Linked DNA regions of Homo sapiens: regions 2, 3, 4, 5 and 6 are each linked to region 1. Evidence: promoter capture Hi-C in 16 types of primary human blood cells and fetal thymus (Javierre and others, 2016). All regions are on one chromosome and are shown on one strand. The core of a region is centred on a gene start or on the middle of the fragment in contact, and the rest is flanking DNA. Distances in the headings are between cores, read along the strand shown.

Region 1 (4,277 bases), core at 688-3,187:
ATTGTGCTACTGCACTACAGCCTGGGTGACAGAGCGAGACTCCGTCTCAAAAAAAAAAAAAAAAAAAAAAAAAAGTCCATGTTTTCAAAACTGAATGCCTTATTTTCTCTCTGCTTTTCAGCTCCATTCCCAAATTGACTCCTCTTCTTGAATTTATTGTTTCTATAAATAATCACCTTGAGGCACACAGTCTTCTCATTCTCTATTCAGTCAGCTGCTAGTCTAGTGGATTCCATTGTCACAGACTCTCTTGGTTAGGTTCACTATTTTCTATTCTTAACTACTACGTTTCTAGGTTAAATCCTAATTATCTCCCACCTAACGTTTGCAGAGGACTCGGCTAGACTGTTCATCTCTGGTAGTTTTCTGCTTGGAATTCTGAGTCTTTTTATTCATTACCACCAAATTATCTCCATAAAGAGCACTTCTTATCTGCCACTCTTTTTTTTTTTTTTTTTTTGAGACGGACTCTCACTGTCACCCAGGCTGGAGTTCAGTGGCGAGATGCGATCTCGGTTCACTGCAACCTCCGCCTCCCAGGTAAAAGCGATTCTCCTGCCTCAGGCTCCTGAGTAGCTGGGACTACAGGTGCACGCCACCACGCCTGGCTAATTTTTGTATTTTTAGTAGAGACGGGGTTTCTCCATGTTGACCAGGATGGTTTCTATCGCCTGACATCATGATCCACCCTCATCGGCCTCCCAAGGTGCTGGGATTACATGCGTGGGCCACCGTGCCCAGCCTTGTTTTGTATTTCTAGTAGAGACAGGGTTTCACCATGTTGGCCAGGCTGGTTTCGAACTCCTGACCTCAAGTGATTCGCCCGCCTACGCCTCCCAGAGTGCTGGCATTACAGGCGTGAGTCACCGCGCCCAGCCAGGCCTGTAAGCTTTCTAAGGGCAGAGACTGCCTTACTATACACGTACCCCCCCCAACTAACACAGTACCATCCACATACAGACAGACGCCCAGGAAATGTTAAACTGTAATTCTGGATAGGTTAACTAGTATTAACCGTATTTACCAAATGTTTACCACATACTTACACTGTCCTCCTTGTTTCAAGGAGCGTAGTCCCCAAGGGATCACCCTGATGGAATATAAAAACTACACATAAGAGTGAAACTACGGAACGTAAGCCATTAGTGTTTTGCAAGACAGCTCGGGTTGAGACTCAGTCTCTCTCTTCCACAGGCCAAGTGACACATCGTAATACCATTGGTACCGTTTTATTTTATTTTTCGCGACAAAGTCTCGTCCTGTCACCCAGGCTGGAGTGCAGTGGCGCGATTTCGGCTCACTGCAACCTCCGCCTGCAGGGTTCAAGCGATTCTCCTGCCTCAGCCTCCCAAGTAATTGGGATTACAAACGCCCGCCACCACGCCCGGCTAATATTTGTATTTTTAGTAGAGACGGGGTTTCACCATGTTGGTCAGGCTGGTCTCGAACTCCTAACCTCAGGTGATCCGCCCACCTCGGCCTCCCAAAGTGCTAGGATTACAGGCGTGAGGCACCGCGCCCGGCCTGTTAGTACTACTTTAAAATCGAATCTGACCTCCAAATCATTTTCTGGAGCTCGATCATTTTCTGCTAACACCGCAAAGCTTAATCCTCTCCACCTGAGAATAAAAGGTTCCATCCTTCCGCTCTCCAGTTTGACGCCCTGCTAAGTCTCTCGGACGCGGTGGGCTGGAGTGAAGGAAGCCGGAGCCCACCAAAGCTGCAAAAGTACCACAGCCAGCAGCCCCGCCCCCGATATCCCCCACAGGCTTCCAATTGGTCCTTGTGGCTCACTCTCTTTCCAGGTTGGTGTTCCAGCTTGCCGGTCGCCTCTATAGAGCCCACCTTTAGACGGCGACTATTGGTAGATCGTTACGTCATTGCCCTATCTACCTCACTCCCACTGGCTCTCATAGGAAGGGGCGGTCGCAACGTCACGGGCAAGGGCCGCCATTTTGACTGAGCAACCCTAGTGACAGGAGCCGAAGCAGCAGCGCAGGTTGTCCCCGTTTCCCCTCCCCCTTCCCTTCTCCGGTTGCCTTCCCGGGCCCCTTACACTCCACAGTCCCGGTCCCGCCATGTCCCAGAAACAAGAAGAAGAGAACCCTGCGGAGGAGACCGGCGAGGAGAAGCAGGTGAAGTGGAAGGGGTGCGGGCGGGCGAGCTGGGGAGACCGTGATGGGGCGGGAGACGGTCTCCCACCAGTGCGGATTGGTCGCCATGGTCTCAGGCTCCGCAGGGGTTGGCCACTTTTTGCGTCACGCTGGGTGAGCTTCAACACGACATGCTGCTTTGGCGCTGGTTAGTTGGGTCGTTTGTCACTCAGTACTGTACTCTTCCTGATTGGCCAATAGGCCTACCGCTCAAACCTTGGACGCTGTGCTATAATTGGCCGAGCATGGACGTGGGGCGGGTGGTTGGAAAGACGGTGAATGGAAAGGGGATGGCTGGTGGTCTTGGGTGTGATGTGTGTTATTGGTTTGTAGAGGTAAGTGACCCAGCAACCGGGCTGGGGCCCGCAGCCTCAATCCGCAAAGATAGGGGTCGAGGTAAAGACGTTTAAAAAAAAACCAGTATTGGGGGAGGGGAGAAGTGTAGTTATTATAATGGCTAGTTTAAGGCGGCAACTTTCTCAAGAGACCTATTTTAGTAGCTAAGGATGGTCTATTGCTCACCTTCAGTGAGGACCCAGCAATATTGAAGAGGGCTAGAGTTCCAAACAGAATCATGGTAATTAAACTTGGAAAAGACGCCGACAGGGTCGTGAGAAAGACACTTCTCTCTTCCCCTAGACTTCCAAGGCAGGGACTTAGTGCACCTGCGATTCCGTGATGGAAACACTAACGCCAAATAAACCCCTTATTGGGGTTTGTATTTGACTTTTAAAATTTAGTACTGGGTTCAGGTACTCATTAAATACACTTGGTGTTATATCTATGCGTAATTTCCAAGAGAAAGGAATATAATTCCACTAAAAAGAGTCATACGTTGACTTCATATCTTTTCAAAAAGTCACTAAAGGGCAGCAGGGACCACAAAAAAAAAAAAAAGAGATTGACTACAGTAGTGAGAGTCCCTGCACCACCAGGGTAGGTATTGATTTTTTTGATGAAAACTGGTGGGTAAATACTAGTGAGCCTACTGTATCTTTGTTTTCCTGAGGTTAAAAACAGTATCATTTTCCTCTCTGTTTATCAGCTTGCTACCATAATATTTGTGGAAATGTTGAAGCAAGGCTGTGCCATTACTCAGGTGGAGATCTTTGGAGAAGGCCACATAGCTAGCCGCCTCCACAGGGAGACCTAACAGGTGGCTTAGACCTTGAATAAAGAAGGAACTGCTTTGTCGTGTAGCAATTTTAAAAAAGAAAGAAAAAAATAAGGAGGAAACATTTAGCAAACTATTTTTTGTTGTTGTAGAGACGGGGTTTCAACATATTGCCCAGGCGGGTAGTGAATTCATGAGCTCAAGTGATGCACCTGCCTCAGCCTCCCAAAGTGCTGGGATTACAGGCATGAGTCACTGCTCCCAGCCCCAAACTATTTTTTTTTTAATTTCTCATGTGACATGTAGGATAGCCTAGGGAACCCTGCTACTCATCCTCTATCACCAGAAGCCCTGCTTTTTTCTCTTTGTCTTTCTTAGCATTTGTGCTGAGTGATATGGCCCACTCTGTGATTAAAGTATTGTGTTTAGTATTACCTTTAGCCCAATACGCACAGGTCCCTGGCTGGTTCCTTGGGTGAAGTGTGAGAAGCAGCTTGTCTTTTTCTCTCACAATAGTCATCTTGAGCTTTAGGGATTTTAACAAAGGTCTAGCTTTAACAGCAGAGTAGAGATAGCGTATTTACAAGTGGGTGGATTTCCAGGAGAAGTTGATAGTATAGTTGTTATCAGATGTGAGAAGCTGTTGTTTCTCAGTCTTTAATTTTATTTGGCTCATTTGTTTTCTCCAGGACACGCAGGAGAAAGAAGGTATTCTGCCTGAGAGAGCTGAAGAGGCAAAGCTAAAGGCCAAATACCCAAGCCTAGGACAAAAGCCTGGAGGCTCCGACTTCCTCATGAAGAGACTCCAGAAAGGGGTATGGGGCATAGTCTCTTACCCTCTTTCTTTGGAGCTAAAGGAGGTTCTTCGAATGAAGTCTGTAGAGGTTCTACTGGATCCTTTTCTGGAGGTTTTGTTGTTGAACAGAAGTAGAGGCGAATTTGAAATTTGAAAAGAGCAAGTCAAATTAATGTAAATCCCTGATGTGGTATCAATTCCCTCCTGATTTCCC
Region 2 (4,277 bases), core at 688-3,187, 420 kb before region 1:
CTGTATATGTGGAACAAAGGGGACTGGGTGATGGAAGAAGTGAATAGTCCTAGCTATTACCTCCTGTTCCTGTCCATTCTGAGCTGGGTGGGGTTTGTAGGTGGAGCTGCATACCTGTCAGTTTTCCCCATTATTTCATCATCAGTCAGAGGTGACTTTGACATGTCCTTTCTTTGTCCAGTGTTCACTCTGCAGGCCACTGCCCTCACTACTCTGGTTCATGTCTTCTGTGTGCTTTTGTTGTTCCAGCTTTGCCTTTCATGCCCTAGTGATTTCCCTGTTAAAATGCCACATCCCCTCTTCCCACCAGGCCCTTAGCTTTTCAGTGGTTTTGAAGACTCTTTTCCCTTCCTCCGTGCTGACTGGAGGAGGGGCCTTAAGACATGACTCCTTATCTTCTCCAAGCAGAAGAAGAAGAGAAGACGGATTGACCGGACCATGATTGGGGAACCAATGAATTTTGTTCACCTGACTCACATTGGCTCAGGGGAGATGGGGGCCGGAGATGGACTTGCCATGGTAACAAGGAAATGGGGAGAGGTTGATACAGGGGTGAGGTCTATAACCGTTCCCTCTTTTTGAAAGTTCAAGCTAGGGACATATGAAAATACTCAATGGGGAAGTAAAAACCTGGGATTCTAGTCCTGGTCACCAGTTGTGGAAACCCGAGACCTGGCATTTTAGGTGTCTGGGCCTAGGTTCTCTCATCTTTACAACTTAGCAGATTGTTCTTCACTGGGGTAGGGGGTATATATATCTTAATAGTTGGAGGGCTTTTTCCAAAAACTTATAACTCTCCCTTCTCCTAATTAAGAACTGCTATCTCAGTGCCACAGTAAATCATATATTTAGGAGTGTTGGGACAGGAAAAAAGCTGAGTACCTTCATCCTAAATAATGTCTAAGATGCACTTCTGTTCCCAAAATAAGGGAAATGGGTCTAGAGATAGTCTTTTCTCAGATCCTGAAACTCAGATATATAGGGGAGAATCCATTGTGAGGGAATATTATTAGTAAAAGACCCATTTTACCTCATCCTCATGAAGGCCAGTGTGAAAAGAGGCATTGAGACTCCCCTAGGAGGAATGGTGGTTAGCAGATGGCTGCTATTGTCAAGGAGATGGCGTCAGCCTCTTCCCTGGAAGGCACAAAGTAGAGTTCTTACTGTAGGATATGAAGACTTACGAAGGTGTCTCGCATCTGTTTTTTTACAGACAGGTGCAGTTCAGGAGCAGATGAGATCCAAGGGAAACCGAGATAGGCCATGGAGCAATTCTAGGGGCTTATAGCTCCAATAATGGAATGGTGAGTGATTAGAGAAACCCATCTAACACCTCAGCCCCCATAACAGCACAACCTGATACCCTGACTCAGAACCCTGATCTTATGCAAGAAAGGGAGGTGTGGCCGGGCATGGTGGCTTATGCCTGTAATCCCAGCACTTTAGGAGGCCGAGATGGGTGGATCACTTGAGGCCAGGAGTTCAAGACCAGCCTGGCCAACGAGGCAAAACCCTGTCTCTACCAAAAAATACAAAAATTAGCCGGGCACAGTGGCGTGCTCCTGTAGTCCCATCTACCTGGGAGGCTGAGGCATGAGAATCACTTGAACCTGGGAGGCGGAGGTTACAGTGAGCTGAGATCGCGCCACTGCACTCCAGCCTGTGTGATAGAGCAAGACTCTATCTCAAAATATAAAAAAAGAATGGGAGATAGGGAGGAATTAGAAGGGAAGATTCAAGAATGTAGGATCTAGGCCGGGCATGGTGGCTAACGCCTATAATCCCAGCACTTTGGGAGGCCGAGGTCAGCAGATGACTTGAGGTCAGGAGTTTGAGACCAGCCTGGCCAACATGGTGAACCCCTGTCTCTACTAAAAGTACAAAAATTAGCCAGGCATGATGGCACACGCCTGTAATCCCAGTTACTCAGGCGGCTGAGGCCGAAGAATCACTTGAACTCGGGAGGTGGAGGTTGCAGTGAGTCTAGATTGCGCCACTGCACTCCAGCCTGGGCAACAGAGTGAGATTCCATCTCAAAAAAAAAAAGAATGTAGGATATAGAAAGACTGAGAGGGTGTTGTGCAGACAGAAGTAAAGAACACACTGTGGAAATAGCTTAAAGTCTGCACTAGGTAGTGCCTTCTTCCTAAAGCCTTGGTTTTCTTTGAGGCTAATCTTCTTTAAGAAAAACTTTTTTTTTATTTCAGGTTCTGCCATCTTGAAACCCCCATTCTGTTTCCAGCCCAGAAGAAATGCTGCCCCTACCAGATCCCTCCTTGAACCAGTGATCTAAGGACCCCTCTTTTCCCTATCTGCCTAACAGTGCCTCACAAGGCTTGGGGGCTGGACTCCCTCTACTCCCTCTGGCCATAGCCCCTCCTGGAGATGGGGTCAAGGCAGCAGGACTGATCAAGTGACTACTGGTTAGCCAGAGGAGCTCAGCTGAAGCCCTGGAAACCCTCAGGTCTGAGATAGGAGTTCTCTAGGAACCTGGAATGAGTTCCTGTCTCCTGAATGATGGTCTGGGTGCCACCTGTTTTTAAACTCTTAAACCTGGAACTCCTTAAATGGGGTAGGTGGGTGAGATTATCAAAGCTGAAGCTGGCTTTGCTGAGAAGCTCCCTACCTCCCTGCCCTTCTCCTCCTTCCTGCTGGAATGAACTAAAGCAGATGTCAAGCAGGGGCTGGTGGGGGTGCCTACTCCCTTTTCCACTCTATCTTTAGATTTCAAACCTTAGGCTTACAGCCCCTCAATATCTCTCTGCTAACACCAGTGTCTCTTTCTAGTTAGGCCTCTAATCTTCTGTTTCTGTTTACCAGCTTCCCAGCAACTTTCCTTTTTTAAAATATTAAAAATTTAATTCAGGTTCTCTTAATTATCCTCATCCTGCTGTTGCCTCCGCCCTTAACTCTATCCCTATTAGGAACCTTGTTTCCCACCGAATAAGAGTTAAGGTAAGAGGTAGCTCTTCACCTGATGACATTCCATTTAAGTTTTGGGGCATCTTTCCTGCCCTCTGCCAACCTCCCTGCTGGCCCAGGTGAGAGGAGGAAGAGGGGTCTGGAAAGAAACCCAGAATGCGGCAGAACTAGGAGTAAGTCCATCTCAAGGTGGACTTCTGATCATTGAGGATGGTGAGATAAATAGGTTGAAAACAATCATCTGTGAGTTTAGGAGTCTTAAGATCCTCACAGCACGGGAGCAGGGAGAGGCTCTAGAACAAGGTTTCACAACCGAGATGCCTTTGACATTTTGGGCTGAAGTGTTCTTTGTAAGGAAAACCTGTTTCCTATTTTGTGCATTACAGGATATTTAGCAGCAACCCTGGCCCACTCTAGTTATGACAACCAAAAATGTCTCTATACATTGCCAGATTTCTCCTAGGGGGCAAAATCGCCTCCATTTGAGAACCACAACTCTAAAGTCAAGATATTTTTCTCTGAAGTGATTTCTGCTTGGCACGCTACCCTCATCATCTTACTCATCTTAAGCCCGAGCCATGGATCAACTAGGAGCCCATATAAATGAGGCTCAGTAGGGCTGCACATAATCTCCAAACAATTCTTTATTCAGTGTTTTGCTTGTGTTTGCATGTTGCTATGATGGACAGGTCCCCCTCCTCCATTCTTGCCCTCTGGAGAAGTGGTTCCTGCAGTGTAGAGATATGAACAGGGTATGGTAGGATTGGGGAAAGGGGAGAGAGAAGCAGTAGATACACTCCTTATCCTCCCCAAATTTTAAGCTCTATTTCTGTGCCCTAGTCCTAGACACACATTAGACTCAGGGAGTTTTGTCTGAAGACCAGGTCCCACTGCCCCCTGGCTGAAGAGTCTGCTTTAAATGGGAAAACAACGTAGGAGCAGGGGTTTTTAGGCACTTTCAGTATTCTCAGGTGTTCTTCGTTCTGGCCCTTCCAGGGTAATTAGGAAGGCAGAACAAGACAGATGAGCTCCTGCCTGCTCTGAGACAAGAAGGGTGGGGTCTCATTAGCTTTGCAACAGGAAACATCCTGTTTTATGGTAGTGGGGTCAGGAATGTAGGAACTGGTATCCATTCTGCCAATTCCACCACCCATTCAGTTTGCTTATCCCTACAGAACAGTGACTGAGGTTCTTTTTTTTTTTTTTTTTTTTTTTTTTTCAAATTTCCATGTATTTTCTGCCATTTTTCAGGGTCTAAGATTGGTCATACATTCCCAATTTACTCTCAGTTCCAGTCAAGCTGGTTGCTCTGAAAGTAACCCAGCTTGTTGCTCTAAAATACCTCAGTAGCCTGA
Region 3 (4,277 bases), core at 773-3,272, 370 kb before region 1:
ATGGGGAGGCTAGAGAACGGGAGCCAGCAGACCAAGCTTTGCTGCCTAGCCAGTGTGGGGACAACCTTGAGTCCCCTCTGCCTGAAGCTAGCTCAGCTCCACCGGGGCCAACCCTTGGGACACTGCCTGAAGTAGAGACAATAAGGGCATGCTCCATGCCCCAGGAGCTTCCTCAGTCCCCCAGGACCCGACAGCCTGAGCCAGATTTCTACTGTGTCAAGTGGATCCCTTGGAAAGGAGAACAGACACCCATCATCACCCAGAGCACTAACGGCCCTTGCCCTCTCCTTGCCATCATGAACATCCTCTTTCTTCAGTGGAAGGTAAGAGAACATGCAGTTAGGGGTGCAAAAAATATCAGGGAGTACTCTTCCCTGACTTACTTCCTTGATCATCCTGATGTCCTCAAACTAGTCAAAACTTTTCAGATTGTTCTCCCTATTTCTCCAGCTTGAGCAAATGAGATAAGATGTTCCTAAAAACAAAGAAAAAAAAAAAAGAGGAAGATCTGTCCTACCCCTGTATCTCCTACTCCCTAGCAAATGCACATGCCTTGCAAGATTTCACATTCATTCCCTTGTGCCAGTTGCAAGCCTTTTTTCCTACCCCACCCTACTACTGGAGCTCCCCCTTGCCTTTCCATGGGTTCTTCCTTCAGTGCTCTTTGGAGGAAAGCACACACGTGATCACCCCTTCTGCCTCCAGGTGAAGCTCCCCCCGCAGAAGGAAGTGATCACATCGGATGAGCTCATGGCCCATCTTGGTGAGTGACTGGGCGTTGAAGAGGAATTACCCAAGGGGCTCCAGAGCTATCCACTCAGCCAGAAATCCAGACTATTCAGGGATCTCCATTTGGGGGTTCTGATACAGCAGGGAGGGTAAGGGTCTATGGGGCTTCTCTGCAAGGCTGGAGAATGAAAAGCAAAGGCGTCGGGAGTCCTGGGTTGTAACACCAATTCTGCCCTTAGCTTTTGTATCTGACCCTGGGTGGGCCGTTCACCTTTATGAGGCTGTCGCCTCCTCTGAGAAATGAAGAGTCTGGATTAGACTCTAAGTATTTTCCAGCTCTGAAAATCTGTGTTCTGTGACATTACCCGCATTCTCCAGGAGAAGAGGAAACTTAGCTTTTGGGATGATTGGTGGGGTAAGCTGATAAGGGGCCCTGTCTTGTAGGAAACTGCCTCCTGTCCATCAAGCCCCAGGAGAAGTCAGAGGGACTTCAGCTTAATTTTCAGCAGGTGAGGCAAAAGGTCTGCAGGCATAGGGGTTTGCAGGTTTGTAAGGGGACATCTTGTAATACTAAGATAAGCTTTTGTTGCTTCTTCAGAGGTTTCCTTGAACCATGATTTCATTCTGCAGGAGTCAGAGGAGAGTTTATCTTTGTCCTAGAAAATATGTTCATTGGCCGGGTGCTCACACCTGTAATCCCAGCACTTTGAGATGCCAAAGCGGGAGGATCACTTGAGGCCAGGAGTTCGAGGCCAGCCTGGGCAACATAATAATACCCCTGTCTCTAAAAAAAACCATTTTTTTTTTCAAGAATTAGCCAGGTATGGCGGTGCGTGCCTGTAGTCCCAGCTACTCAGGAGGCTGAGGTGGGAGGGTCACTTGAAACCAAGAGTTTGAGGCTGCAGTGAGCTAGGATCACACCACTGCACTCCAGCCTGGATGAAAGAATTAGACTTAGACTCTCAAAGAAAAACAATGTTCATTTATATAAGATAGAGAAGGGTTGAGGCAAGGGAGAAATGGAGTGGCTTGTAAGAGAATCAGGGAAGAAGAGCAGCAAGGTTAATTTTTAATTTCTGCAGGTGGGAGTGGAGTGGTGGGAGAGAAGGCTAGAATCTCCATCATTTTTTTTTCTACCCCCAGAATGTGGATGATGCAATGACAGTGCTGCCTAAACTGGCCACAGGTCTGGATGTCAATGTGCGATTCACAGGCGTCTCTGATTTTGAGTATACACCCGAGTGCAGTGTCTTTGACCTGCTAGGCATACCTCTGTACCATGGCTGGCTTGTTGATCCACAGGTGAGGGTGGGAGGGCCCACTGGGACCTTATCCAGCTCAAGCTGACATGAGAGAGGCAAATTTTTGTCGGGTAGAGGTTAGGGAGTTAGGGGTTAGATTGGCTTGGGAGGGAAATAGTGTTTAGAGACTGGACCCAGTACAGAATTCCTTGAATTTTAATCTATTTTGGGGGTAACATGCAAATACAAGCAAACTACATGCAAATAGGTCAGTTCTTTAGACATCAAAAATTCAGGAAGCAGATGGGTTTGGTGGCACATGCCTGTATTCCCAGCTACTTGGGAGGAGTTCGAGGCCAGTCTGGGCAACATAGCAACCCTATGATGAATGGTTCCTGAAATTTTTTTCTTTTTTGAGAGACCAAAAAAAAAAAGTGTTTAGGAACCATTCATCACAGGGTTGTAGTCCTTGTGAGCTTTGTTCATTTCCTTCCTTAAAAAAGAAAAAAAAATCCCAATTTTTTTGGTATCCCACATCCCACTACCCAAGCAGAGTCCTGAGGCTGTGCGTGCAGTTGGGAAACTGAGTTACAACCAGCTGGTGGAGAGGATCATCACCTGCAAACACTCCAGTGACACCAACCTCGTGACAGAAGGTGACATTCCTCCCCTTCTCATGGATAGTATGTGGAGGGAATGACAGCTACTTAGGCTTATTTTTTATTGGGTGTCATCTCCTACCACATCCCACTAGATATAAGCTTCACAAGAAGGAGCTTGGGGAATTTCTGTTTAGTTCATTGAGGTATCCCCAGTGCCTGGCACAAGGTAGCTGCTCTATTATAAGTATTTGTTAAGTGAATGAATACAGCCAGGTTTCAAGAAAGGGACGTCAGAAGGTGGGACTGACCCCCCGGGGCTTTTGACAGGGGCTCTCTGGATGGTCCTTCCTGTTGTGGACCTTGAATTTAAGCCAAGTTTCCCCCGACTCGTCCCTTTCTGGCAGGCCTGATTGCAGAGCAGTTCCTGGAGACCACCGCGGCCCAGCTGACCTACCACGGACTGTGTGAGCTGACAGCAGCTGCTAAGGAGGGTGAACTTAGCGTCTTTTTCCGAAACAACCACTTTAGCACCATGACTAAGCATAAGGTAATGCGAGTTTGGGGGTGGCGTGCTGCGGTGCTGTCATTTCCTGGTGCCTTTTTCTCGTGGGTCCAGCTGGGATCAGCTAGATTAAGCCGTGGTAGCAAGTGACCCCTCAAATCCCTGTGGTTTACCACAACAAAGGTTCATTTCCCGCTCCTGGTGCGTGTCCACTGTGGACTGGCTACGGTTCTGTCCCACACCATCTTCACTCTGGGACCCAGCTGACAAAAGATCCTTTATCTGGAATATATGTGGGAACAGAGAGAGAGAGGGGCACTGTGCACTCATGCTTAGAGCTTCTGTTTGGAAATGACACATGTCATTTCTGCTCACATCTTCTGGCCAGAGCAAGCCATAAGGGATAAGCCTGCCGTCGATGGGACAGGAAAGTATGATCCTCCCCTAGGAGGGGGCAGTGGAATTTTTAAACAATGCTGGTCTTCAAAAGTTAGAAACTGCCAAAGCTCTCTAGGATTTGAGCAGCAGAGGGAGGGGTCTCTGGTTCTCAAAGGATTTATCCTAAGAGCCATCAGGCAAGCCCAGAGAACAATGGGAAATGGGGGGAGCAGGGTCTTATGTGGCATCTCAGCCCCAACGACTCCATGCCACGCTTAGCCAGAATGACCACCGTGCTCACACCCAACTGGACATACACTCAGACATCCCTTTCTTCCCCCCAAGGCCACACATATTTGTAAAAGGTCCGCATGCTCAGGGTCCGGGTGCGGTGGCTCATGCCTGTAATCCCAGCACTTTGGGAGGCCGAGGCGGGCAGATCATGAGGTCAGGAGATCGAGGCCATCCTGGCTAACACGGTGAAACCCCGTCTCTACTAAAAAAATACCAAACATTAGCCAGGCATGGTGGCGGGTGCCTGTAGTCCCAGCTACTTGGGAGGCTGAGGCAGGAGAATGGTGTGAACCTGGGAGGCAGAGCTTGCGGTGAGCAGAGATTGTGCCACTGCACTCCAGCCTGGATGACAGAGCGAGACTCCATCTCCAAGAAAAAAAAAGTCCACATGCTCATACCGAGATTTCTGGCAGTGAACTGCCTCCGTATCAACTGTCCCCCCAATGAGCTCTGTTCTTTTCTTTGTAGAGTCACTTATACCTACTGGTCACTGACCAGGGCTTTCTACAGGAGGAGCAAGTCGTATGGGAG
Region 4 (4,277 bases), core at 575-3,074, 350 kb before region 1:
GGTGCCAGAGGTGAGGTGGGTGTCGTTGTTGTGGCCTGGTAGCTTGCCTGTGTGAGCACTGCCTCCGGTGTGGCCTGGTAGAGGAAAGTGGGGGTGTGTGCAGCCTAGGCTGAACAGCCAGTCAGATGACCTCTCTTAGGGACGAACCCAGCAGTTGTCTGACTCTGGCCCCTCCCAGACGTGGGAGAGGACCGGGCTGTACAGAGTCCCACATGCAGACACCTTCCTGCCCAGCATCTCTTCTCCCAGGAACTGGGCCTCAATCCATGTGAGTGAACTCCACTCAGCCTCTCAGCGGCTCAGCCTCAAACACAGGAGGCTTTTATGCACTGCCTTCCCTGTGGGTCCAGGTGGGACCACAGAGACCTAGTCTCAAAGTCCAGCTTCTGACCTGGCTCTGCCCCAGCTTCTGACCTGGCTCTGCCTCTGGCTCCAGCTCCCTGGGGGGCAGGTCAGACAGGCTGCAGGCTGATTTCAAGGCTGATAGGGAAAAACCTGTTGGGGCACATACCAGCAGGGCACCCCAGCCTGCACCCCAGAGGGGGTCCCAGCCCAGAAACTCCCTTGACTGCTGCCTTACTAGAGCCAGCTGACCTAGGTGGAGAGTGCCCAGGGATTGTGTATATCTGTGGAGAAGGAAGGGCACAAGTATTTGGGAGTGGAAGTTGATGAACAGAGTCAAGAGAGAAAAATGCAAAGGGTGTTACCTTCAGAGGGAAGCTCTATGCTCCCAAAAGGCAACAGGGAGATGGGGGAGGCTCCCTTGCCTGGTTTCTTAGATTGCTTCTGTTGCCTTTTGGCAGCCTGGGCCCTGTGGCTGTTTTAGCTGCAGGTGATGCAACCCCAGCAGCTGGACTTGAGGCTGTCTCTGCACAGAGCAGCAGGTGAACAGCCCTGTGGAGCCCCCGCCCCGCCATGCAGCAACTGCTCCAGCCTCACAGCTGGCTCCCTCAGGTCTAAACACAGCCTCTTTCCTGCCTCCCTGGAGAGCCTGGGTAGGGGCGGGGCACAGAAGCTACAGCCCTGCCTCCACTCACTCCTCTGCCTCTCTCCCAACTCAGGAAGGCCTTCACTGGCATTCCTACATCCCTGGAGGAGGGACCTGCAGTGGCTCCACCACACTGAGTAGACCATGCCGGAGGACACGCCATGAAAGGATATTTCTGTGGCGGTAATCACTGCTCCTCACTTTTCTCTCCTGTTAAAAGGAAAACATGCACCTGTGTCAGAACTGGAGAATGAGGGTTCAATATCCAGCTCTGCCACCTATGTTCTGTAAGCTTCGCTAGTCCTTTCAGCTCTCTAAATGGGAGGATTGAGAGAGACGGAGGCTGTGGGACATGCTGGGGCCTCCGAGGACAGGTTTCCTGGGATGATTAAATGAAGTAATGTGTCCACTAAAGAACTTATCCATGTAACCAAACACCACCTTGTCCCCAAAAACTATTGAACTCATAAAAATAAATAAATAAATAAATAAATAAATAAGGTAATGTGGCCAGGCACGGTGGCTCATGCCTGTAATCCCAGCACTTTGTGAGGCCGAGGCGGGTGGATCATGAGGCAGGAGATCGAGACCAGCCTTGGCTTACACAGTGAAACCCCGTCTCTACTAAAAATACAAAAAATTAGCCGGGCATGGCGGCGCATGCCTGTAATCCCAGCTACTCGGGAGGCTGAGGCAGGAGAATCACTTGAACCTGGGAGGCAGAGGTTGCAGTGAGCTGAGATGGCGCCACTGCACTCCACAGCCTGGGCGACAGAGTGAGACTCCGTCTCAAAAAAAAAAAAAAAAAAAAAAAGTAATCTGTGTAATTGCATGTGGCAGAGAAAAGTGCCCTGTAAAGTAGGGGTATTAGATTAAATAAATAAATATACAGGACATGCAGCTTAATCAGAATTTCACGTAAATGAGGAATCATTTGTTGGTACAAGTATGACCCAAATATTTCATTAAATATACTAACATTTTTTTTTTTGAGGCGGAGTCTCTCTCTGTTGCCCAGGCTGGAGTGCAGTGGCATTATGTTGGCTCACTGCAAGCTCCACCTCCCGGGTTCAAGCGATTCTCCTGCCTCCGCCTCCCGAGTAGCTGGGATTATAGGCGCCTGCCATCATGCCTGGCTAATTTTTTGTATTCTTAGTAGAGATAGGGTTTCACCATGTTGGCCAGGCTGGTCTCGAACTCCTGACCTCGTGATCCACCTGCCTTGGACTCCCAAAGTGCTGGGATTACAGGCGTGAGCCACCGCCTGTAATTATTATTTTTTGTTTATCTGAAATTATAGTTTAACAGTGTGTCCTGTATTTCACCTGACAACCCCAAAATGGAACTCAGTCTCAGCGTGGTGGCTAAAAGCAAAGCTTCTGGAGCCAGACTTCTCAGAGTCGGGATTCTGGTCTTCTGTGTGACCTTGGGCAACTATTCTGTGCTCAGTTTCCTCATCATCAACAGACAAGTAATAGTGTTTATGTTATAGGTTGTTGTGAGAATTAAATAACTACAGTGCATATAAAGCACTTAGAAGAGTTCTGGGCACAGCGCTGTTAAGTAGAAATGTCACAATGTTATCAAATATATAACGATAAGTATTGTTATATGGTAACTGTTACTGTTGTTATTACTTACCTCCTTAAGAATTCCGATCTTGGCTCGCTTCTGAAACTTTTCTGGCCAATCCCCAAAATGGCCACAAGAGGGCGTCAGCAGCCACTGAGAGTCTCGAGCCCCCTAGTGGCCCCTTGAGGTCTCTGGCTCCAGCCCCACATATTAAGGGGCTGTCTCAGCCCACTTGGGAAGTGCAGCCTCCTGAGGACGCCAGGTTCCTGGGTGGAATTGGTATGCAGGTAGCATCAGGGGAAGAGCCTCAGGTAGATACCTACTCAGGGGAGCCCCCGAGGCTGACCTCAGACACATGCAGGAGACTGGGTGACCGCAGTTAGGCTGGGTAAACACGGTACTGCAGCTCCGCAGCCGGGGTCCCCCTGGCCCTCGGCTTTCTGTACCCTTCAGAGTTTCTTCTGGCTACCTGCCCAGCAGATTTAGGGAGAACCGAAGGAAGCGTGAGGCCTCCTGTTTCCTCACGCCGAATCTCTCCAAGGGGCTCCTGGCCGGCATGCCAGGCTGAACTCTGAATTTGGAGAAGTCCAACAGAGTCTCAGTCACATGGCAGAAGCGAAGTCCTTGCCTGTGAGGAGTGTGTGTGTGATGCGTTCACAATCGCTGCATTGAAACCTGCTACAAACTCATTCCTCTCCCTAGGTTTTGTTTTGTTCAACTTCAGGGCCGGATTGCAGTTGTTTACAGTTGTACTGATCACCTTCCTTCCCCATGTTGTACATTTTAGAATTGCAGAGTTGGAGGAAATCTTAGAGAGGATCTAATCTACCACCTTTTCTTTTCTTTTTTTTGAGACAGAGTCTCACTCTGTTGCCCAGGTTAGAGTGCAATGGCGCGATCTCGGCTCATTGCAACCTCCGACTCCCTGGTTCAAGCAATTCTCCTGCCTCAACCTCCTGAGTAGCTGGGATTACAGGCATGCACCACCATGCCCAGCTAATTTTTGTATTTTTAGTAGAGACAGTGTTTCACCATGTTGGCCAGGCTGGTCTTGAACTCCTGACCTTGTGATCCGCCCACCTCGGCCTCCCAAAGTGTTGGGATTACAGGCATGAGCCACTGCGCCCAGCCTCTAATCTACTACCTTTTCATTACTGACTCAAGGAGTCTGAGTGACTTCCCGAGGCCATGGAGTTGGAACTAGCATCCATGTTTCTCAGCTGCCTCTCAGTGTTTTCTTCATCCCTCAATGCAGGCGAGGCAGATTTGGGCTCCCTCTCAGTGGAATACAGGGGAAAGGCAGCCACATACACCGCCTCCACTGTTCATGCATGTCCACCTCTTCAGCCTCCAAGTCCCACATTGCTTTTATTTATTTATTTATTGAGACCGAGTCTTACTCTGTCACCCAGGCTGGAGTGCAGTGGTGTGATCTCAGCTCACTGTAACCTCTGCCTCCCAGGTTCAAGTGATTCTCCTTCCTCAGCCTCCCGAGTAGCTGGGATTACAGGGCCCACCACCACACCCAGCTAATTTTTGTATTTTTAGTAGAGACAGGGTTTCACCATGTTGGCCAGGCTGGTCCCAAACTCTTGACCTCAGGTTATCCGCCCACCTCGGCCTCCCAAAGTGCTGGAATTATAGGCATGAATCACTGCACCCAGCCTTTTATTTATTTTTGAGATGGAGTCTCACTCTGTTGCCAGGCTGGAGGGCA
Region 5 (4,277 bases), core at 539-3,038, 330 kb before region 1:
CGACTGTAATCTCAGCTACTTAGGAGGCTGAGGCAGGAGAATCACCTGAACCCGGGAGGCGGAGGCTGCAGTGAGTCGAGATTGCACCATTGCACTCCAGCCTGGGTGACAGAGCGAGAACTCCATCTAAAAAAATTCACATGCAAGAAGCAAAGGTAGACAAGGTAGAAGATGAATGACAGCAGCCCACAGGGGAGGATGGGGATAATACCTCACTGAAAGATCCAGAATTGGGAGTATCGGGCTGAGAGAGAGAAACAAAACCACAATCTTAGTTTTATCATATTGTTAAAAGACTTTCAAGAAATAATACAAACTGGAGATAGTAGATACACAGGCTCCATTCTAAGAACAAAGTCTGTTAGAAGCAGGAACACTTGGACAAATATGGGATGGGAGGGATGTCAGGCCGAGGTTAGAGTGGTGATCTCTCCCCACCCTTTAGGGCCTTTGGAGGTGGAGAAGGGATCCTGCCTGCTAGCACCACATTGGAAGGGATCATCTGGTCCAGAACCCCCATTTCTATCAACTAGGAGCTGGGGGGAGTAGCTAGCCCAGAGACTTCGGGTCAGGGTTCAACAATCAGGAAGACCCAGTTCCTGAGGAAACGACAGTTCAAGAAGGGTTGGGAAGAAGGCTGTCCTCTAAAGAAGACGTCCTCTGCATTCAATGGCCCCACAGCAACAGAGTAGCTCCTTGCCTTCCACACTGCCCACCTCGTAGTTGTAGTCCCAAGTAAGTTCTGTCCCAGCCCGGATTCTTCTGAAGAGGAAGAAAAGGATGGTGTGTGGCAAAGACAGCAGATAACCCAGGCACTTGGGGTTACTGAATATGTAGGTGGAGTTGGATCATGAATGGAGGAGGGGCCCTTAGAACTTCAGTGGTCCTTGCCCCTCCCCAGTCATCCCCTTTCCTGACTCCTTACTTGCTGGCAAAGAAGGCCACCCAGGGGAAGCGAAGATCATGGGTATCCACGAAGACATTCTGGACAAACAGGTTGGGGCTGCAACTGTGCTGTAGGTTTAAGGACAGGATCAAATAAGAACCAGGGAAACTGAACCTGGCTTTGCAGGGAGAGTGAGAGTTGGAAGAAAAATGATGCCATCTGACCCTCCCCATTATAATAGATGCTTTGAAAGAAAGCTACCTCTTTAAGATCCTTTGAGATCAAGAGTTTATAACAAGAAAAGGGCTTATAGAGTATGTTAAAAGAAATCTGAGGACCATGGGATAATCCAGCATCTAGAGGTGGGGAGAGGGGTCTCACGTTGAGGTAGCGGCCCAGGTTGCCTTCAAGCTTGGCATCAATGATGTAGCAAGACTCCTCGCCATCATAGAATTGGCGTGTGTTCTTACGAACAGGTGCGCTCTCCCCCTTGTCCACAGAGGCCATGTTGGTTGATTTAATTGCAATCCCATGGGTTGATTTAAGAGCAAAGCCTCGGGTTGATTTTACTGCCACTTGACGCTTCATTGGACCTGGACAGGAGGGAGAATGGGGTCAGGACCCATCCCAACTCATGAACAGACATTCTATCATGAATGGACATTCTACCCCTATTTCTCTCCCAACATTGCAGCTGAGAAACACCAATAAGCTGGAACTCAAAGATCCTAAGTAGCAGGTTTTTTTTTCAAGCATAATTAGATCTGCTAGACAAAGGAGCTGAGGGGAAAGAGTAAAAAAATGGAAATGAGAGAGGATGTGTCAAACAATAGTTTAGCTTGGAGTCAGAAAGCCCTCCCAGAGATGCTCCAATTCTTAGGATCTGAATTTTTACCCACTACTTCTTTAGCTTCCTTAAAAAATGCTCTATCCCAAGTTTCTTACTATTTCTTCCCACCATTCCCAAAATTTTTCCAGGCTACCAGTCATGTTCTTCTTGTCCTCAAAGTCATCCCCTTCAGAGCCAGAGGATATGGTCTGGATATCATCACTGTCAACCGCTGTAGCCGAAGTCTGACCAGCAGTGGGCTTTCGGCTGGTCCCACTTTCCCCCTCACTTTCTGTGCTGCTGGACAGTGTCAGGACATCCTGGGGAAGCAGGAGGGTAAGAAGTAAGAGAAGTAAATGGGAAGGGCTCCTTTAAGTCCTTGCTGTTACCCACGGTTTGGCAGGAAAGGGCGGTGGCAAGAGGAAGATTAGATGCTGGATGAAAGAAAATAAGGCAGGAAGTCAAGGCTAAAGAAGTAGGAGAAGACCTAACAGTAATTATAGTGAAGGACTTGATGAGGTGACAATGGCCCATTTTCCTTTATTAGACTCTGAATAAGCTTGAGGTGACTTACATCAGGGTTGGACTGAGCAGAAGCCATGAGTCTTCGGCTTTGATGCATACTAGTCTTACTAGGTGGGCGGCGAAGTCCTTCAGGCTTCACAGGAGAAGGATTGTAACCGTAATTTCGAGAGCTTTCAGTAACTCTAATGGGAGGGGAAGGAATGAAGCCAACAGGTTACTGGCTGTTTCTTAGGCTTCTAGCCTAGGTTTGAGAGAAGGCAGATTTGGAGACAGGTCAAAAAGACAGGCACTGGGCTGGACACGGTAGCTCATGGCTGTAATCCCAGCACTTTGGGAGGCTGAGGATCCCCTTTGGGAGCATCGCTTGAGCCCAGGAGTTCAAGACCAGTCTGGGAAACATGGTGAAACCCCGTGTCTACAAAAAATACAAAAACTAGCCAGGCATGGTGGTGCACACCCGTAGTCCCAGCTACTAGGGAGGCTGAGGTGGGAGAATCTCTTGAGCCTGGGAGGGGGAGGTTGCAATGAGCTGAGATTACGCCACTGCACTCCAGCCTGGGTGACAAAGCAAGACTCTGTCTCAAAACAAAACAAAACAAAAGGCACTTACACTGACATCTTGTTTCGGTCGTCAGTGTCCTGGAAAAGAACAAGTGAAGGGTTAAATGCTTTCACAGCCTCGGGTAACAAGTCCAATAATCAGACTTCAAATGACCTCCACAGATAACATCAGCCAGTGACAGGTACACATTCTAAAGTGGGGTGGGTAAACCACTCTGCAACTTGACAGAAATCCTCACTACACTCCCTGGCTGGAGCCTTTAAGCCTTCTCAGTGATGGGGCTTAATGCTCATGGAAAACACCACGAGCAGGATTACATCAACCAGGGACAGTTTCACCATCTGTAATGTGGAAAGCAGCATAATCATCAAAGAGATACTTAAAATCAATTCTTGTTTCTCTACTTTAGTAGAAGGAAACAATGATGTGAATAACTTGAAACAGCATTTAACATTAAAAAATCACTTATAAATCTTTCATTTTGTAATTAATCAGATACTTGTCCACCCTCTACCACCAGGCAAGTGGATTTTAAAATAATTTTTTTTTTTTTGAGACAGAGTCTCGTTCTGTCACCCAGGCTGGAGTGCAGTGGTGCGATCTCGGCTCACTGCACCTCCACCCTCCAGGTTCAAGCGATTCTCCTGCCTCAGCCTCCCAAGTAGCTGGAAATACAGGCATGCACCACCACGCCCGGCTAATTTTTGTATTTTTTAGTAGAGACGGGGTTTCACCATGTTGGCCAGGATGGTCTCCAACTCCTGAACTTCAAGTTATCCACCTGCCTCGGCCTCCCAAAGTGTTGGGATTACAGGTGTGAGCCACTGTGCCCGGTCAATAATTTGGTTCTTTAAACAAACACTAGGAATGTGCTAGTTAGGGGGAGAGATAACGAGGTGGCCACAGAAATATCCATCAAGTAGAATAATCTACATGCAAAGACTCATGGTGAGACTGCATTGTTACTGCACCAAAGTTAAAGCCATAGCTCTCAGAGTGTTCTGCCACTGCTTACCTCTTTCTTGGCCTGTTTGATGTCTCCCTCATCCTTGATGCCTAGTCCTGAGGTGGAGGCCTTCTCAGCCTCCATTCGGCTTCCCCCAGCCCGGCCCTCCCCACCTTCATTAGTCTTGAAGGATGAATGGCTATCAGAGTCAGCAAAACCACCTTCACTGACACTATTGCAGCTCAACCATGAGGCCACCTTGTTCTTGGGTGTCTCTTCGGAGGAAGGTGGATTGCAGCCACCTACAGGGATTGAGGGAGGAACAGGAATATGTGGGGGTCCAAGATCTGGGGGGTGGGAGTCCTTGGAAGTTGTCTCAGAGAGTCCGTTCTCTTTCTGGCCCCGGGTCTGCCTCCGGGTAGCATAGCTCCGCCACACTGAACTGGTGCTGAAGTCCTCATCCTTACAGAAGTTATCATCTGAGCTATCATCATTGGACTCTTCAGGGTCCTCTGTACCGCTGTTGCCA
Region 6 (4,277 bases), core at 912-3,411, 280 kb before region 1:
GTGAGACACTGTCTAAAAAAAAAAAAAAAAGCTGGCTGGGCACGGTGGCTCACGCCTGTAATCCCAGCACTTTGGGAGGCCAAGGCGGGTGGATCACAAGGTTAGGAGATCAAGACCATCCTGGCTAACACGGTGAAACCCCATCTCTACTAAAAATACAAAAAATTAGCCGGGCGTGGTGGCAGGTGCCTGTAGTCCCAGCTACTCGGGAGGCTGAGGCAGGAGAATGGCGTGAACCTGGGAGGCGGAGCTTGCGGTGAGCCAAGATTGCGCCACTGCACTCCAGCCTGGGTGAGAGTGCGAGACTCCGTCTCAAAAAAAAAAAAAAAAAAAAAAAGCCACCATATGACGCAGCAATTCCACTCCTATGGCTGTCCCCAGGAGAAATGAAAACATGTGACCACACAAAAACTTATACAAGAATGTTTGTAGCAGCATTATTCATCATAGCCAAAAGGTAGAAACAACTCAAATGTCCATCAACTTATAAATGGATAAGCAAAGTGTGGTATGTCTACACAATAGACTATTATTGGCCATAAAAAGGAAGTACATACTACTTGGATGAAACTTAAAGCATTAAGCTGAGTGAAAGAAACAAGTCACAAACGCCCCCAGCATATTATATAATTCCATTCACATGTAAGTCTAGAATAGAGAAATCTATAGAGACAGATTAGTGGTTGCTTAGAGCTGGAGGTGGGGGATGAGGGGGTGAAAGTTAAATGATACAGGTTTTCTTTTGGAGGTGATAAAAATGTTCTACAACTGTGGTAATGGTAAAACATTTCTGTGAATGTGCTAAAAACCATTCAATTGTACATTTGAAATGGTTGAATTGTATGTGAATTATATCTTAATAAAGCTGGTTTTTGTAAAACCTTAGTTCAGTTTTAAATTCCTAATCTTATAGAGGATTTAGAGTTCTATTAGCTCTTCTCCCTTTTCAGGCTTCTTCTTCTGCATTGTACAGGATCAGGAAGAAAGGAAGGGGAAAATGTGAAGTGTTTCTCTATTTAATGAATCAGCTGTGGCCAACTGTGAGTAGGTGACCTGGTCTTACTCTGGTTAGATCTGGTGGTTTCAGAGTGAAGGATGTTTGTAGTTTTTTGAGTAGCGTTTCTCTTCATTCTGGACTTTTCTGTCATTGAAGACCCCTTCAAATGGTGCTGCTTATCCTCTATTCTCCCAACCTAAACTCACGTTGGATATCACATGGCTTGGTACAGTGGTCTCCTGGCACCTCCCACTGCTCCTGCTCCTTCGGAGACACCTGAAGTCCTTCAAGGGGAGTGGCCAGACTGTGATGGGTTGGGGGGATTGGCCACATTTTCTTCCTAGGCATACTCTGCCAAGGTACCTATAAACCCTGCCAGCACAGATTATTCCAGTGGGCCTTCCACTTTCAGATCTCTGTAGCCAAGAAATTGACATGATTTTTTATGTTTGCACAGGTTAAAAACTCACACCATGCTTTACTCCAACCTGACCAGAGTGGTTTGGCAGGTTCTACAGTTTAAAGCATCTATCTAGGGAATGAAATGCTGTTAGTCTCTCCTTGCTGGTGTCACCAATTGTACCAATGTCTCTCTTGGCATGCCCTCATCTTTGGCTTTGGGAGGAAGGGGAAGTACTTTTATCTTTGCTTCTCATCACAAATTTTGTACATCCCATAATGCCGATAATGAGAATTCCCAGTTGCCCTCCCAGTTCATTCTTTTTGTTGTTGTTGTTGTTGTTTTTGAGGTAGGGTCTCACTCTGTCACCCAGGCTGGAGTGCAGTGGCATGGTCATAGCTCAATGCAGCCTCAACCTCCTGGGCTCAAGTGATCCTCCTGCCTCAGCCTCCTGGATAGCTGTGACTACAGGTGCCCACCACCATACTTGGCTGATTTTTAAATTTTTTGTAGAGACGAGGCCTTACTATGATGCCCAGGCTGGTTTCAAACTCCTGGGCTCAAGCAACCCTCTGCCCACCTCAGCTTCCCAAAGTGCTGGGATTATAGGCATGAGCCACCACACCCGGCCCCAGTTCATCCTTCTTTTTTTTTTGAGATGGAGTCTCGCTCTGTCGCCCAGCCTGGAGTGCAGTGGTGTGATCTCAGCTCACTGCAAGCTCCGCCTCCCGGGTTCACGCCATTCTCCTGCCTCAGCCTCCCGAGCAGCTGGGACTACAGGTGCCTGCCACCACACCCGGCTAATTTTTTGTATTTTTAGTAAAGATGGGGTTTCACCGTGTTAGCCAGGATGGTCTCGATATCCTGACCTCGTGATCTGCCCGTCTCGGCCTCCCAAAGTGCTGGGATTACAGGCGTGAGCCACTGCGCCCGGCCTTATTCTTTATATATACTGTGGTGGGACAAGGGGTGGGAGTTGGTGGATATACGATTGACTACGCCATCTTCTCATGAGATTTGGAAGAGGTTCTGGCTCTAATTGTTGCAGCTTTCTTTAGATTATAAGTAGTATTGTGCCTTCAATAAGACTTGACCACAATTCTGGGGCAACAGGGTAAGTTGCACTCATATCTTTTACACTGGGTTTTCATGCCACCCCCTGGACTCCTCCCAGATGTGCAGATGGAATGGGCAGATAAGGCCGGGTGCCACGGCTCATGCCTATAATCCCAGCACTTTGGGAGGCCGAGGTTGGGGGGGATCACCTGAGGTCAGGAGTCCGAGACCAGCCTGGCCAACATGGTGAAACCTCATCTCTACTAAAAATACAAAAACTAGCTGGGCATGGTGGTGTGTGCCTGTAGTCCCAGCTACTTGGGAGGCTGATGCAGGAGAATGACTTGAATCCGGGAGGTAGAAGTTGCAGTGAGCCAAAATTACACCCTTGCACTCCAGCCTGGGTAACAGAATGAAACTCGGCCTAAAAAAAAAAAAAAAAAAAGAATTGGCAGATTCTGCAAGTTCCTTATGAAGGGTGATTTGTGTGTGTGTGTGTGTGTGTGTGTGTGTGTGTGTGTGTGTGGTTTTCTTTTTGATTATCTTGTCTTATGATCACACATAATTTTAAAATTTGTGTGTATCTCCTCTACTTTAATCCTTTTAAGTTGGCAAAAGCATCATTCCCAATCACAAATACATAGCAGTTCTACAGTTTTATGTTTCTGAATGGCTGTTTAAAGACTATCCTAAATTATAACTTAGTTTGACAAGCATTCAAGAGTGAAGTTTAACTTGCTACTATTTTAAAAGCATGTGACCTTATAGATCATTTATAAAATGTGAGAAATGCTAAATAATCTTTGATATTACACATAAAACACACTAAAATGTCTTTCAATAAGTAAAAGGAACCATTTTAAATACAGGGAATTCTAATTAGATTGGCATAGTTAAGGCCAAAAATATAAAGTAGACATTACTACCTTATTTATCTTCAACCCTTGCCTTTATGGACACAAAACACAGGTGAATCTTGCTTGGTTCTGAGACAGTGAAGGAATTTCTCCAGTATTCAAATATATTCACATAACCAGTTATATAAATCTAAATATAAAACCAATCTCCAGTAAGTTTGAAGATGGTACTCACCATCTTTGTGAAAAGTTTAACATTACTAACAAAGTCTAATCATATCTTTAGAAGGGGTAAACAGTGATAGCATTTACTGAATTGGAATTACTATTAAAATTCAAAAACTGAACATATTCATTTAACCACAAGCCAGTCTTAGTTTTAAATCAGGACTGTCCGACAAAATATTCTGTCAGTCATTCATGATCTGAATTCTGGTGTATAAGCTCTGTTAAAGTATGGTACACATGAAAAATTCATGAGACATTTGTTTTGTAATAAATAAGGCAGTGGCCAATTATTACTCATTAGTAGCTTTTTTGAGATAAGCTGTCAAGTCGGCCTTTTCTGCCTTCTTTTTAATGCCGGCAAAGATCATTTTTGTTCCAGGGATGTACTTCTTGGGATTTTCCAAATACTCCATCAGCGTATCCTCTCCCCAGATGATGCCTTTGTTCTTATTGGCATCTGTGTAAGAGAATCCAACAGCCTGACCTGTCTTCTGACTGAAGAGACCATGGAGATTAGGCCCAGTCTTGTGCTTGCCTCCCTTTTCCACGGTGTGACACTGGGCACACTTCTGAACAAAAATCTTCTTGCCTTTCTCAACATCACCCATATTTAATTCTCTTTTTCATCACTGGTGCAACGTAGGTTACCACTCTGAAGCCGGACATCCCACTCTCTCCATAAAGGCAATTTTTTTTTTTTTTTGAGACGGAGTTTCACACTGTCGCTCAGGCTGGAGGG

What was found. Contacts are between HindIII fragments. The CHiCAGO score rates a contact against its expected background, and 5 or more counts as called.
Region 2: a contact is called between a fragment that was not itself captured here and the fragment with the promoter of ENSA in region 1, in 1 of 17 cell types (fetal thymus). The highest score is 6.7, in fetal thymus.
Region 3: a fragment that was not itself captured here is called in contact with the fragment with the promoter of ENSA in region 1 in 5 of 17 cell types (fetal thymus, erythroblasts, megakaryocytes and 2 more); the score reaches 8.8 in fetal thymus.
Region 4: a fragment that was not itself captured here is called in contact with the fragment with the promoter of ENSA in region 1 in 3 of 17 cell types (fetal thymus, erythroblasts and endothelial precursors); the score reaches 9.8 in fetal thymus.
Region 5: a contact is called between a fragment that was not itself captured here and the fragment with the promoter of ENSA in region 1, in 1 of 17 cell types (naive CD4 T cells). The highest score is 5.1, in naive CD4 T cells.
Region 6: a contact is called between a fragment that was not itself captured here and the fragment with the promoter of ENSA in region 1, in 1 of 17 cell types (endothelial precursors). The highest score is 5.3, in endothelial precursors.

Annotation. Positions count from the first base shown.
Region 1 is chr1:150,627,272-150,631,548 of GRCh38, reverse strand. ENSA (endosulfine alpha) reads left to right here and starts at 1,937. Exons shown (of 4, transcript NM_004436.4): 1 at 1,937-2,135; 2 at 3,957-4,082. The coding sequence starts at 2,079. It overlaps LOC112268239 (a long non-coding RNA gene), which reads right to left and starts at 1,730. Exons shown (of 2, transcript XR_007066603.1): 1 at 1,047-1,730. RefSeq lists enhancers at 273-1,242, 1,243-2,210, 1,953-2,222. The HindIII fragment of the contact is 4,295 bases long and covers 1,607-4,277 here.
Region 2 is chr1:151,051,258-151,055,534 of GRCh38, reverse strand. It overlaps CDC42SE1 (CDC42 small effector 1), which reads left to right. Exons shown (of 5, transcript NM_020239.4): 3 at 409-519; 4 at 1,214-1,304; 5 at 2,208-4,277. The coding sequence ends at 1,288. C1orf56 (chromosome 1 open reading frame 56) reads right to left here. Exons shown (of 2, transcript NM_017860.5): 2 at 4,115-4,277. Among named protein-coding and RNA genes, the nearest start is that of C1orf56, 5.6 kb to the right of the region's middle. The HindIII fragment of the contact is 6,723 bases long and covers 1-4,277 here.
Region 3 is chr1:150,998,211-151,002,487 of GRCh38, reverse strand. It overlaps MINDY1 (MINDY lysine 48 deubiquitinase 1), which reads left to right. Exons shown (of 10, transcript NM_001376665.1): 2 at 1-323; 3 at 706-763; 4 at 1,174-1,238; 5 at 1,873-2,031; 6 at 2,524-2,626; 7 at 2,977-3,119; 8 at 4,215-4,277. Among named protein-coding and RNA genes, the nearest start is that of MINDY1, 6.6 kb to the left of the region's middle. The HindIII fragment of the contact is 1,422 bases long and covers 1,312-2,733 here.
Region 4 is chr1:150,978,098-150,982,374 of GRCh38, reverse strand. LOC105371438 (a long non-coding RNA gene) reads left to right here and starts at 870. Exons shown (of 3, transcript XR_922135.3): 1 at 870-954; 2 at 1,062-1,171; 3 at 2,289-2,417. It overlaps ANXA9 (annexin A9), which reads right to left and starts at 83. Exons shown (of 14, transcript NM_003568.3): 1 at 1-83. The HindIII fragment of the contact is 1,084 bases long and covers 1,283-2,366 here.
Region 5 is chr1:150,960,732-150,965,008 of GRCh38, reverse strand. SETDB1 (SET domain bifurcated histone lysine methyltransferase 1) reads right to left here. Exons shown (of 22, transcript NM_001366418.1): 16 at 3,818-4,277; 17 at 2,851-2,879; 18 at 2,290-2,422; 19 at 1,870-2,035; 20 at 1,268-1,479; 21 at 926-1,014; 22 at 272-762. The coding sequence ends at 645. Among named protein-coding and RNA genes, the nearest start is that of CERS2, 12 kb to the left of the region's middle. RefSeq lists a cis regulatory region at 156 and an enhancer at 84-228. The HindIII fragment of the contact is 977 bases long and covers 1,300-2,276 here.
Region 6 is chr1:150,903,765-150,908,041 of GRCh38, reverse strand. The region is part of intron 1 of CTXND2 (cortexin domain containing 2); the gene reads right to left. LOC107985204 (a long non-coding RNA gene) reads left to right here. Exons shown (of 3, transcript XR_001738231.2): 2 at 951-1,040. It also overlaps the pseudogene CYCSP51. Among named protein-coding and RNA genes, the nearest start is that of CTXND2, 19 kb to the right of the region's middle. The HindIII fragment of the contact is 6,110 bases long and covers 1-4,277 here.